2 separate regions of the Homo sapiens genome follow, and region 2 is linked to region 1. The links are contacts of gene promoters, found by promoter capture Hi-C in blood cells and fetal thymus (Javierre and others, 2016). All regions are on one chromosome and are shown on one strand. The core of a region is centred on a gene start or on the middle of the fragment in contact, and the rest is flanking DNA. Distances in the headings are between cores, read along the strand shown.

What was found. The method cuts DNA at HindIII sites, captures the fragments that hold promoters and counts their contacts. A CHiCAGO score of 5 or more calls a contact.
Region 2: a contact is called between a fragment that was not itself captured here and the fragment with the promoter of NWD1 in region 1, in 1 of 17 cell types (M2 macrophages). The highest score is 5.9, in M2 macrophages.

What each region holds. Positions count from the first base shown.
Region 1 is chr19:16,718,445-16,721,144 of GRCh38, forward strand. It overlaps NWD1 (NACHT and WD repeat domain containing 1), which reads left to right and starts at 1,403. Exons shown (of 19, transcript NM_001007525.5): 1 at 1,403-1,849. The HindIII fragment of the contact is 21,822 bases long and covers 1-2,700 here.
Region 2 is chr19:16,965,774-16,968,473 of GRCh38, forward strand. The region is part of intron 18 of CPAMD8 (C3 and PZP like alpha-2-macroglobulin domain containing 8); the gene reads right to left. Among named protein-coding and RNA genes, the nearest start is that of CPAMD8, 60 kb to the right of the region's middle. The HindIII fragment of the contact is 4,693 bases long and covers 1-2,700 here.

The DNA.
Region 1 (2,700 bases), core at 153-2,652:
TTACAGGCATGAGCCACCGCGCCTGACCAAGTATCTGAAACTTCTATCCCTGAAAATATAGTAACACTATTATTATTACTTTTTCTTTGAGATGGAGGCTTGCTCTGTCGCCCAGGCTGGAGTGCAGTGGCGCAATCTCGGCTCACTGCAAGCTCCACCTCCCAGGTTCATGCCATTCTCCTGCCTCAGCTTCCTGAGTAGCTGGGACTACAGGTGCAAACCACCACGCCCAGCTAATTTTTTGTTTTTTGTTTTTTGTTTTTTATGTAGAGACAGGGTTTCACCATGTTAGCCAGGATGGTCTTGATCTCCTGACCTCGTGATCTGCCTGCCTTGGCCTCCCAAAGTGCTGGGATTACTGGCGTGAGCCACCATGCCTGGGTGACTTGTGAGTTTTTGAGACAAAGTCTCGCTCTGTCACCCAGGCTGGAGTGCAGTGGTGCGATCTCGGCTCACTGCAAGCTCCACCTCCCGGGTTCATGCCATTCTCCTGCCTCAGCTTCCTGAGTAGCTGGGACTACAGGTGCAAACCACCACGCCCAGCTAATTTTTTGTTTTGTTTTGTTTTGTTTTTTTTGTAGAGACGGGGTTTCACCGTGTTAGCCAGGATGGTCTTGATCTCCTGACCTCGTGATCTGCCTGCCTTGGCCTCCCAAAGTGCTGGGATTACTAGCGTGAGCCACCATGCCCGGGTGATTTGTGAGTTTTTGAGACAAAGTCTTGCTCTGTCGCCCAGGCTGCAGTGCAGTGGCAGGATCTCGGCTCATTGCAACCTCCAACTCCCAGGTTCAAACAATTCTTGTGCCTCAGCCTCCCAAGTAGCTGGGATTACAGGCATGCGTCACCACGCCCAGCTAATTTTTCTATTTTTAGTAGAGATAGGGGTCTCACCATATTGGCCAGTCTGGTCTTGAATGCCTGACCTCAGGTGATCCGCCTGCCTCGGCCTCCCAAAGTGCTGGGATTACAGGCATGAGCCACCGTGCCCGGTCTTGGAGTTTTAATGGTAATTAATCATGGCTAACATCTCACGGGCCCTTCCTGTGATGTAGGTGTAGTGTTAGTCTCACTCTCTATATAAATGCTTTTCATTGTCTCACCAACACAGGAAGTTAGTGAGAAAATTCAAGTGCAGAGTAGTGAAGCGTCACAGGCAAGGGACTTCACCTTTCTGCATCTTGTTTTCTTCATCTGTGAAACAGGATCATAATGTCTGTCTCTTGGGGTAATAATGTGGACTGCTAATGCCAAATGCCAACCAACTGCACCTCCTAGACTGTCAGCAAATGGCATCTTTTACGAGGAGCCGTATCAGCCTGGCACACAATAGTTAACCACTAAGTCTGGGCTGAATGCCCGGCTAAGCTGGTGCCCTAGTGCAAACAATCGCTTTCATTATCCCAGTTGCTGGGAGAATTGGGCAAGGAGAGACCCATAAAATACCTAAGACGAAAGTTACTAGGATAGCCAGGGGCTTGTCTTCCGGGTGGCGCCGAGGCCAGGAAACTGTCCTCTCTAACCTATTTCCCCAGAGGAGTCTAAATTGGTCGTTCAACTACCAGCAAAGGCTAAAGAGAGGCTGGAGCCCCCAGGACAGCCAGAACGCTGACACTGCAAAGGGCCTCTGTCCTTACTGGGGAAGCCCAGTCCTGCTCAGCTGTCTTCTTCAGCAACAAACAGAAGTCCAGAAAGAGAAACAGTTGTGGAGGAAGCTGTTGTGATGATAATTTACTGAGCACCTACTATGTGCCAGGCACGCCAGCCTTACCAGACAAGATCCTTGGGCTCATGGAATTCACTTTCTCGTGGGACAGACAAACAATAACATGTAGAAACATATCAGCTGTTGGTGAGTACCATGCAGAAAATTAAAATAAGGCGATGGCATTGGGAGTGACTTAAGGGGTCACTACGCAATGGGATGGTCAGAGACAGCCTCTCAGGAGGAGGTAGCATTGAAGCTAAAATGTGAACAACATGAACAGATGCAGCATAGAGCACTAAAGTACAGGACGTGCAAAGGCCCTGAGGTTGAAATAAGCTAAATGCATTAGACTAGGGGGTTCTCGAGTAAGGGGAATTCTGCCCCCTAGGGGACATTGCAATGTCTAGGGAGACTTTTTTTTTTTTGAGACGGAGTCTCGCTCTGTCACTAGGCTGGAGTGCAGTGGCGTGATCTCAGTTACTGCAAGCTCTGCCTCCCAGGTTCACACCATTCTCCTGCCTCAGCCTCCTGAGTAGCTGGGACTACAGGTGTCCGCCACATGCCCGGCTAATTTTTTGTATTTTTAGTAGAGACGGGGTTTCACCGTGTTAGCCAGGATGGTCTCGATCTCCTGACCTCATGATCTGCCCTCCTCGGCTTCCCAAAGTGCTGGGATTACAGGCGTGAGCCACCGCACCTGGCCGAGACTTTTTCTTTTTGAGATGGAGCCTTGCTCTGTTGCCCAGGCTGGAGCGCAGTGGCACGATCTCGGCTCACTGCAACCTCTGCTTCCCGGGTTCAAGCGATTCTCCTGCCTCAGGCTTCCGAGTAGCTGGGATTACAGGTACATGCCACCGCGCCAGCTAATTTTTGTATTTTTAGTAGAGATGGGGTTTCGCCATGTTGGCCAGGCTGGTCTCGAACTCCTGGCCTCAAGTAATCTGCCTGTTTTGGCCTCTCAAAGTGCTGGGATTAGAGGTGTGAGCCACTGCACC
Region 2 (2,700 bases), core at 152-2,651, 250 kb after region 1:
CCAACTTACAAGGGATGTGAAGGACCTCTTCAAGGAGAACTACAAACCACTGCTCAATGAAATAAAAGAGGACACAAACAAATGGAAGAACATTCCATGCTAACGGATAGGAAGAATCAATATAGTTAAAATGGCCATACTGCCCAAGGTAATTTATAGATTCAATGCCATCCCCATCAAGCTACCAATGACTTTCTTCACAGAATTGGAAAAAACTACTTTAAAGTTCATATGGAACCAAAAAGAGCCCACATTGCCAAGACAATCCTAAGCAAAAAGAACAAAGCGGGAGGCATCACGCTACCTGAGTTCAAACTATACTACAAGGCTACAGTAACCAAAACAGCATGGTACTGGTACCAAAACAGATATATAGACCAATGGAACAGAACAGAGGCCTCAGAAATAACACCACGCATCTACAACCATCTGATCTTTGACAAACCTGACAAAAACAAGAAATGGGGAATGGATTCGCTATTTAATAAATGGTGCTGGGAAAACTGGGTAGCCATATGTAGAAAGCTGAAACTGGATCCCTTCCTTACATCTTATACAAAAATTAATTCAAGATGGATTAAAGACTTAAATGTTAGACCTAAAACCATAAAAACTGTAGAAGAAAACCTAGGCAATACCATTCAAGACATAGGCATGGGCAAAGACTTCACGACTAAAACACCAAAAGCAATGGCAACAAAAGCCAAAATAGACAAATGGGATCTAATTAAACTAAAGAGCTTCTGCATGGCAAAAGAAACTACCATCAGAGTGAACAGGCAACCTACAGATTGGGAGAAAATTTTTGCAATCTACCCATCGGACAAAGCGCTAATATCCAAAATCTACAAAGAACTCAAACAAATTTACAAGAAAAAAACAAACAACCCCATCAAAAAGTGGGCAAAGGATATGAACAGACATTTCTCAAAAGAAGACATTTATGCATCCAACACATGAAAAAATGCTCATCATCACTGGCCATCAGAGAAATGCAAATCAAAACCACAATGAGATACCATCTCATGCCAATTAGAATGGCGATCATTAAAAAGTCAGGAAACAACAAATGCTGGAGAGGATGTGGAGAAATAGGAATGCTTTTACACTGTTGGTGGGAGTGTAAATTAGTTCAACCATTGTGGAAGACAGTGTGGCGATTCCTCAAGGATCTAGAACTAGAAATACCATTTCACCCAGCAATCCCGTTACTGGATATATACCCAAAGGATTATAAATTATGCTACTATAAAGACACATGCACACGTATGTTTATTGTGGCACTATTCACAATAGCAAAGACTTGGAACCAACCCAAATGTCCATCAATGATAGACTGGATTAAGAAAATGTGGCACATATACACCATGGAATACTATGCAGCCATAAAAAAGGATGCGTTCATGTCCTTTGCAGGGACATGGATGAAGCCAGAAACCATCATTCTCAGCAAACTATCACAAAGACAGAAAACCAAATACTGCATGTTCTCACTCATAGGTGGGAACTGAACAATGAGAACACCTGGACACAGGGCGGGGAACATCACACTCTGGGGCCTGTCGGGGGGTGGGGGGCCGGGGGAGGGATAGCATTAGGAGTAATACCTAATGTAAATGATGAGTTGATGGGTGCAGCAAACCAACATGGGACATGTATACCTATCAAACTTGCACATTGTGCACATGTACCCTAGAACTTAAAGTATAATTTTTTAAAAAAAGAAAATACATATATAATTAAAAATATATGGCCAGGTGCAGTGGCTCATGCCTGTAATCCCAGCACTTTGGGAGGCCAAGGCTGGCGGATCATGAGGTCAGGAGATGGAGACCATCCTGGCTAACATGGTGAAACCCCGTCTCTACTAAAAAATACAACAAAAATTAGCCAGGCATGGTGGTGGGTGCCTGTAGTCCCAGGTACTTGGGAGGCTGAGGCAGGAGAATGGCATGAAACCGGTAGGCAGAGCTTGTAGTAAGCCAAGATGGCGCCACTACACTCCAGCCTGGGCAACAGAGTGAGACTCTGTCTCACCAAAATATATATATATATGTATATATATACACACATATGTGCGTGTATATACTTGTATATATGTGCATATATACACACACATGTGTGTGTATATATGTGCATATATACACACACATGTGTGTATATATATACATGTTGCTCTCAGAATAAGGATGTGTTTGTTCCAATTACAAAAAAGCATGGGCACTTGATTTTGAAGGCATTTCTTATGCCTTTCTCCATTGTGATTTACAATTGCCTTCATGGTTTTGAGTTTTACAAAGCTGCTGCTTCTATACCAGCCCCAGGACAAGCTCTCAGGGGTTATGCATGTGAGTGGGTCAGGGCCTCTGGGGTGGCTGCCAGCTGACAGAGGCCCTGGGGCCAGCATTCCAATCTTCCTCATCCAATCACATCTTGAAATGCTTCCATGTGTATCCAAACTACAGTATGAAGCCTAATCTGCCAATTCCCCGATTAGGAGTTGGGAAACTAGGAACCCTGTAGGCCTGCTAAACGTGTGGCCCCAGCAGGAAGAGCCTGGGGGACTGAAGCATCCAGGAGCCACTGGGGAGCAGACGGAGGGGCACAAGAAGGTTCCTGTTTTATATAGAGAGGGCTTGAAAGATGGAGAACACTTCCATGGACAGGCTCATCAGGGCTGGCCACCAAATCAAGAGGTTT